Linked DNA regions of Homo sapiens: all the other regions are linked to region 2. The links are contacts of gene promoters, found by promoter capture Hi-C in human tissues and cell types (Jung and others, 2019). All regions are on one chromosome and are shown on one strand. Each heading gives the region's core, a stretch centred on a gene start or on the middle of the fragment in contact. The rest is flanking DNA. Distances are from core to core; before and after follow the strand shown.

The links. The method cuts DNA at HindIII sites, captures the fragments that hold promoters and counts their contacts. A contact is called where the count stands out against the background at its distance.
Region 1: a contact is called between a fragment that was not itself captured here and the fragment with the promoter of ENPP1 in region 2, in 1 of the 25 tissues and cell types used here (IMR-90 fibroblasts).
Region 3: a contact is called between a fragment that was not itself captured here and the fragment with the promoter of ENPP1 in region 2, in 4 of the 25 tissues and cell types used here (IMR-90 fibroblasts, mesendoderm cells, neural progenitor cells and 1 more).

The regions. Positions count from the first base shown.
Region 1 is chr6:131,867,142-131,869,841 of GRCh38, forward strand. ENPP1 (ectonucleotide pyrophosphatase/phosphodiesterase 1) reads left to right here. Exons shown (of 25, transcript NM_006208.3): 12 at 877-985; 13 at 2,217-2,348. Among named protein-coding and RNA genes, the nearest start is that of CCN2-AS1, 33 kb to the right of the region's middle. The HindIII fragment of the contact is 5,038 bases long and covers 1-2,700 here.
Region 2 is chr6:131,806,584-131,809,283 of GRCh38, forward strand. It overlaps ENPP1 (ectonucleotide pyrophosphatase/phosphodiesterase 1), which reads left to right and starts at 1,437. Exons shown (of 25, transcript NM_006208.3): 1 at 1,437-1,692. The coding sequence starts at 1,453. The HindIII fragment of the contact is 10,154 bases long and covers 1-2,700 here.
Region 3 is chr6:131,848,596-131,851,295 of GRCh38, forward strand. ENPP1 (ectonucleotide pyrophosphatase/phosphodiesterase 1) reads left to right here. Exons shown (of 25, transcript NM_006208.3): 3 at 1,395-1,511; 4 at 2,547-2,672. Among named protein-coding and RNA genes, the nearest start is that of ENPP1, 42 kb to the left of the region's middle. The HindIII fragment of the contact is 8,629 bases long and covers 1-2,700 here.

The sequences.
Region 1 (2,700 bases), core at 136-2,635, 61 kb after region 2:
CTTAATACTTAAAAATTCCAGTTCATGTTGCTTGGATAACTTTGAATGAAAGACGTTGTCTTGTTTCATGTTACAGTGAAAGAGCTTATCTCATATTATAGTGAAATAATACTGACAATGAATGAAGATTAAGCTGATTCCACACATTACAGAAAATACACAAAACTGCACAAAAATTTTTCTCAAATGGTTTTGCAAGGAGAGAGGATAAAATAAGTGCCAGAAAGCAGTTTGCCAATATCATTTGTCATTCTGTGTTCTTGTGATATTCATATGTAAAATACATGCAGTTTGTAAGGAAATAATGGGTTATATTCCTATGAGTTCTAATTTAGAAAATTAAATACATTGAATTATAAGAAGCATTTCATGAATAATTTGAACATTTTTGAAAATTAGGAAACATATTTATACAGTGACCATTTGAATGATCAGAAAGTATAAGAAGAAATGAATTGTGGAAAATGAAGTGGTAATTAAGAACATATTGGTTTCTGGCCAAACACTGTAGATTTGAGCTATTATTATTTTGGCTTAAGTTGGGTCTAATCTAAGTAGTAGCATTCTGACCTCAGGAATAGATCAGCTAATCTCATTCCCAAAACTTAAAATTGAACGTGTATAGAATTAGGACTCTTGCATTGTTAATGATCTGCAGTTATTTACTGTTCTTTGTATCTCTGACCCTGACCTGTCTTAGTCTAATGTGAATCAGCTCATTGTAGTTGCATCCACTGGCCCTTATCTATCTATCTGTCTGTCTTTCTTTCTTTCTTTGTTTCTTTCTTTTTTTTTTTTTTTAACAGAGATAGCTTTATGTATAAATAGCCATTAGTGTGGAAGGTATCACATGAGGTTGTTGCTTCCCATTCTTAGGTCATCAAAGCCTTGCAGAGGGTTGATGGTATGGTTGGTATGCTGATGGATGGTCTGAAAGAGCTGAACTTGCACAGATGCCTGAACCTCATCCTTATTTCAGATCATGGTAATCTGAATTTGCATTATTTACTCTTCAGGATAAAGGGCTGAAGAAAGTTTACTTGATGGTTTCCCAATTTTTTCTGAATGTTGTAGTTAATTCTTTTTTAAAAATGTAGTTTCTTATGGACAGTCTTTAGGAAAAAAATACATTAAATATAAAATATAAGTGAAACACAGAATTCACAGAAACCTAAGTGCCTATCAAGCACAATACACCAAGAATTTGAATAGCTAAAAAATATATATTTTCAACATTAAATTTGTGTAACTCTACAATTTTAGATTTAGTTGGAACTGATTATTATAGCTTCAATTTCCTTTTTTTGTTGTTGTTTTTGAGACAGTCTCATTCTGTTAGCCAGGCTGGAGTGCAGTAGCATGATCACAGCTCACTGCAGCCTCAACTTCCTGGGCTCAAGTGATTCTCCTACCTCAGCCTCCTGAGTAGCTGGAACTACTGGCATGTGCCACCACACCTGGCTAATTAAAAAAAATTTTTTTTGGTAGACATGGGATCTTGCTATGTTGAGCAGGCTGGTCTCAAACTCTTGCTCTCAAGCTCCCACTGCTGCCTTCCAAAGTAGTGGGATTACAGGCATTAGCCATCGTGCCCAGCCTTCAATTTTCTTTAGCTTGATAAATCTGACTTTAGAAGCATGATATATTAATTTTGATAATATTTTCACTTTTACTTACTGTGATCTTTGTAACACGCTTGTGTACAGTTTGGGGACTATAGGAGCAGCGTGCCTATGGAAAATAGAAAATAGGTTCTTTTTGTTTTTGTTCTTGTTTTTTGCTTCAGAAATAATTATAGAAATCTGTGTTTAGAAGCAGTCCTAAGAAGTTACATGCAAAGAAGTACCAGTCTTGGAATGAGAGTGAATCATACACATACACTCCCAGTTAATATCCTAGGTGGTTTGGGGCAAATAACTGGGCTTTCACATTCGGTCTAAAAATGTGATAAGACATTCTTCTTTGCTCACATAATGATATTGTAATATATAAATAAGAAGAAACATTAACCAAAATTTGGGTGACGGAAAAGATTTTGAAAAAAGTGAAGTGATAGGTACAGCTGAAATTCTGTCTTACCTATCAGATCTTCAACTAATATGAGTGCTACACCCATGTTTAACGAATTTAACCTTGGAAGTGAAAGAAGTTCTGCTCTGCATATTAAATTTTTTGTTAAAGTTACAGCATGTTTTGGGATTTTTTTTTTCTCCTAGGCATGGAACAAGGCAGTTGTAAGAAATACATATATCTGAATAAATATTTGGGGGATGTTAAAAATATTAAAGTTATCTATGGACCTGCAGCTCGATTGAGACCCTCTGATGTCCCAGATAAATACTATTCATGTAAGTATATCTCTGTGATAACTTTGAATATGGTCATATTAAGAATACCTTCCTTTAGGCCGGGCACAGTGGCTCATGCCTGTAATCGCAGCACTTTGGGAGGCCAAAGTGGGTGGATCACCTGAGGTCAGGAGTTCGAGACCAGCCTGGCCAACATGGTGAAACCCTAAAAATACATATACGATACTATACTATATCTATACTAAAAATACAAAAATTAGCCTGGCTTGGTGGCAGCTGCCTGTAATCCCAGCTGCTCTGGAGGCTGAGGTACAAGAATCGCTTGAACCCAGGAGGCGGAGGTTACAGTGAGCTAAGATCATGCCACTGTACTCCAGCCTGGGCAACTGAG
Region 2 (2,700 bases), core at 187-2,686:
GATTTCTTGGGCTGCTTTTTGTTAGAAGGTAAGTTCTGCCGAGGGCTCTTTTGCTCATACTATCTGCCTAAATAATTTCTATCTCCTGTATCAATATCCTATGTGTGACTCTATTCTGCATATATGACTTAGGTTTTAATTATTTTGTTTACGAGTTGGTCCTACCCCCCCACCCCCGCTTCCACCACACTTAAGGAAAGATACATTTTAATTCATTTTTTATATGGTATGCATAGTTGGAGGCCAAAAGATTGAGTTGAAGGATTCATTACTTGATGAATAAATGGATGGGTGGATGGATGAGTCAGTATAAATGAAGAGCATCCCAAGTTGACTATTTTAAAGGGATAACATGCATTTTATATTTGTTAAACATTCATTCTCATTTGTAAACACTTGTATATATTCATGTATTCAAAATGTATTGAAAATTAATTGTTTTCCTTGGTACCTGAAGTCAGTCCTGGGTATTGCAAAGTAGTTCGAAGTCACTGGTTTCCCTCTGTCTCACTTCACTACACACTGGTGATTTTGCTAAGTGATGAGCCAGAAAATGTACAAGTTCCAGAATCAAAGGTAAAACAAAACCCACCAAGAATCAGCTCACTGTTAGCGTCCTAGTTGAAAAATAAGGCTTATCAAAGTATTTCAGATTGCATTAACACTTTTGATATAGCTAGGTATCAGTGTCAACCTCAGGAGAGGGCAACGCCAACTCCTGAAACCTTCAATACAGAAAGTCTAGAAAAATAAGCAAATATACATACAAACAATAGCGAGAAGACTCCAGAAACCACATAAAACCGTGGGAATCGAAATATCCCTTACGTGTGTTCAGTACATGTGAACCCACGTATTTTAAGTGGACGATTTCTCTCTCAGAGTACCGTAGGTAGTGGGGGACGGGGCGCAGAGGGGGAGAAACAGAAAGTCGCCTTCCTCCATGGTTCATTTGCATTTCCATCCAGAAACTCACAGGTCGACCCCAAGACTCCACTCTCTCCCGCCTTTGAGAAGCCGGACCGGCATCGGCGGCTGCATCCTTCTCCTCCTCCCCGCTCTATTTTGGGGCCCCATGATCTCATGCCCTCTGCAGACCACACGCTGCAATTCCAGCCCAGCCCGCGCCGCGAGGCCACGCAGGGCGATTCCTGCAAGTGTCGGGAGGGTGGCCGGGGCGCGGGGAGGGGACGGCTTGGGGGGAAGTTTAAGACACGCCCACGTAAGGGACCCAAAATAACCGACACACAGAGTGCCCGAAATCAGACAGGAAGCCAAATAATCCGGGGCGTTGAGTCGCTTTGCCCTGACTGCGAGAGCCGGGTGTAGGGCGGGGAGCCAAGGATCTGACCGCGAGGGGCGGGCGCGGCGGGGAGGGGCGGGGCGGGGCGGGCGGCGCGGGGCCTATTAAAGGCGCGGCCGGGCAGCGGGGCCGGAGCGGCCGGGGCCACGATGGAGCGCGACGGCTGCGCGGGGGGCGGGAGCCGCGGCGGCGAGGGCGGGCGCGCTCCCCGGGAGGGCCCGGCGGGGAACGGCCGCGATCGGGGCCGCAGCCACGCTGCCGAGGCGCCCGGGGACCCGCAGGCGGCCGCGTCCTTGCTGGCCCCTATGGACGTGGGGGAGGAGCCGCTGGAGAAGGCGGCGCGCGCCCGCACTGCCAAGGACCCCAACACCTATAAAGTACTCTCGCTGGTAGGTCCGCGGCCAGGCCCCGGCGCCCGGGAGGGCTGGGAGTACGGGGAGGGCGGCGCCGAGCTCCTGCGCTCTCAGCGCAGTCAGCACCGGGCACCGGAGAGAGGCATGGTCCGGGAGTGCTTCTTCGCCCGCGCGCTCTCCTCCGCAGCCTTTGCAAGTGCCCTACACAGCCGCCCCTGCCAGGTACCTTGCCAGGGCAGGATGGTTCACTCTCACTTGAATTATGGATGCCTGTGAAAGCAGGCTGTTCAAAACGGTCATCCTTAGAAATACTCGACCCCCTGCCCCAGGAGAGTACGGGTTTTTAGAGGAGAAAAATGTCAAACGCGAAAGTTGTTGGTCTTAAGAAGGTGCATCAATGTGTTGCTTCTTTTAGGGGGCTCTGGGCGCAGTATACATGACTTCACTTGGGTTAACTGATTGCAGTTGAAGAGTTAGCGGAGCTCTTTAAGTTTTATTAGGAACTCTACGGAACACTTTTTCCCTTTCGCTCCGTTTTGGAATTTCCTTGCAGGTGCTCAGAAATTCCATGGATGTTCACATTATGTGACTGAAGAAACCTTTATGATTCTTTGCCCACTCTTCTAACCAGAGGCTACACGGTTTGTGTTGCTAACAAAAGCTACCTATTACTCCTCTGCTATTTTGCTATGACATTTGCAGGACCCACAGTCAACTTCATGAAATGTGGGGGTTGGTTTTTATTCTGAATTCATGGTGGGAAGTGCTGATTGAGAGAAGGCCTGGATTCCTGGCTGTTATTATTTGCTGAGGCCTTGCGTAACTGTCCCTAAACCTCAATTTCTAATGTGTGAAAATGGGACAACATCAACTCCCTTGTGCATTGCATGGGATTATTGTGAAAATCAAGCTGAAGAATGTAGGTAGGGAAGTAAATTGAAAACAGCAAGGAAATAGAATCATTTTTATTGTATTATATGGAAATCACAGATTTCTATGTATAGTGTACCCTAAAATATATCCCCTTACATATGATTGAATAAT
Region 3 (2,700 bases), core at 156-2,655, 42 kb after region 2:
ATTCAGAACACATGTATCTAAGTTTAACTGAAGTAAACAGTTACAGACTTTAGTGTTTACCTATGTCATCTTTTAGCATGAAGTGATTCACTCCTGAGTTGACACATACAAATTAAAAATGAAAAATAACAATTTTAATCCAAGCCCAACATAGTATGCATCATATTTTTAAAAATTATTAGGTGCATATTAATGAGCTCCAAGTAATAGCTATTATTCCAATAGACTTCCCTGACCCCCACTCCAGGTCAGGAAAGTTCGTATTTCTGACACTAGAAATTATTATTGTTACTTCATCTTCTTAAAATTGCCTGATTTCCCAGTGTCAAATGAGAGGTAAATTCCATGGCAGTGTCTTTTTGGGTCAGAACACCATTAAAGTCAAGAACTAAGATTATTTCTTTTTTGTTGTTGTTGGATGTCCCTTATTTTCCATGTGTTCCTTTTTTTCTTTTTTTCTCATTGTCCTAATTTTCTAGCTCTCCAGTGAAACCTGGCTTATTCAAGGTATCTAGTAATGAACTTCAACAGTAAAAAACTGTCATGAAAAGTACTTTCCTCCCATGTCTACCATTTATTCATTTAGCAAAAATGTGCTAATCTCAACTATATGGCATGCACCTGGCTGGGTTTTAGGGAGACAGTATGCTGGGCAAAGCCAGATGTGGTCTTGGTTTGCCGTCTAACTGGGATATTAACCAAATAACCTAGTTACGTGTGGAATTAAGTAATTGAGGGGAAGGACAAGGTTTTATATGAGCTTAAAAAAATGGAAATCAGGCCTAGCTGGGGAGTTAGGAAAGCTTTTTAGAGGGAGCCAGTCTGGATCTAAAGGTGAAATGGGTGTTTCAGGTCAGGGAGGGAAGAGCTATGCCAGGGAGCATGTTCTGAACAAACCCACTACTTCTTTACACCAGGATTGAGAGTGAGGCAGGCTAGGTAATCTTTTCCTTTCTAAAATATTCTTAACCACTTCTAAAAAAAATTTTTCCCACATTTTGAAATTTTAGGGAACCCCATGCCTGCTTAAGCCAACTTTTTCATAGCACAAAGTATTCAGAACAAGCCTTTATTCTGACTTTTATTTTATCACACCATGGTTATTTAAGTCTTATCAGACCCAGTAACGTTTGTAATAATAATCATTAAAAAGTTATCTTTCTTTCCTACATCAGGAGATAAAAATCACAAACCAGGCACATAAGGTTACTTTCTGTTTGTATCACTTTTTGTGTGTATTTGTGAAAAGATTTTTGCCTTACTTTATTACCCCATCTGTATTTTCTAAAGTAGTATTTGAACCTAGTGTACACCTAACTTAGTTGTATTCGTTGATGTTTACTTTGAATTATATAATGATTAGAAACATCTGACTTATCGTTCAATTTTTTCAGTTAAAAGTTGCAAAGGTCGCTGTTTCGAGAGAACATTTGGGAACTGTCGCTGTGATGCTGCCTGTGTTGAGCTTGGAAACTGCTGTTTAGATTACCAGGAGACGTGCATAGAACCAGGTAAGGATGAGCAGGGAAAAAAGTGGAGTTATGGTCATTAGGAAAAGATCAAGGAAAGTTCTGTGTCTTTCAGGTATGTGATTTACCTAATTCATTTGAATTTTTTTTAGTTTAGCATACATACACGTTTTGACATTAGCTTTTATATTTTCTTTCAACAGTTCCTTAAGAGAAAAAAATTTACAGAATTTCTCTGTTAAACATTTTATGGATAGCAGAACTTTGTCTATTTTTAATGTATGCTGAAAGCCTTTGTAATCTAATTTGCATTCAAATTCTAAAAGCCTGCTTGAAATATAGAAATATTTTCATTATGGTTCTTTGACGGCAAGAGATCTTATATGTCCACCTATATTTTTCAAAATAAAACTATCAGAATATGAAAATTTTCTTAGTTAGATTTGGAATTCTCTGCATATGACATGGAATAATTTTTAAATGAGAGAGATTTATTTATTTTTCATTAGTATTTATTTTTTAAAGACAGGGACTTGTTCTGTCACCCAGGCTGGAGAGCCGTTGCTCGACCATGGCTCGTTGCAACCTTGAACTCCTGGGCTCAAGAGATCCTCCTGCCTCAGCCTCCCAAGTAGCTGGAACTACAGGCTCACACCATTATGCCCAGCTAATTTTTAAAATGTTTGTAGAGATGAGGTCTCACTACATTGCCCAGGTTGATCCCAAACTCCTGGCCTCAAGCAATCCTCTCACCTTGACCTGAGAGTCAGACTTAGATTAAATTTTAGCAGGTAGAAGAAGCCAGGTCTACATATGAATTGCATATGGTAAGGTGCATCTAAATTTGAAAATGACAAAATTCTGGACTTTTAGTGAAATAATAATAATTGGTTCCTACATATTTTACCCCATTAGTTCAGAGTGGCCATGGTAGTGGCAGATTCTGTGAGTGACTAAGAGCTGTGAAATTGTTCATTGTTGCTCATGGATCATACTCAGGAAGACAGCAATTCTGTGTTCACTTTGGACATGTTGAATTTGAGACATAAAACACATTTTGCTGATGTTTGTTTCTAGAACATATATGGACTTGCAACAAATTCAGGTGTGGTGAGAAAAGGTTGACCAGAAGCCTCTGTGCCTGTTCAGATGACTGCAAGGACAAGGGCGACTGCTGCATCAACTACAGTTCTGTGTGTCAAGGTCAGGTGCTCGTTGGGCTCTGCAGCAG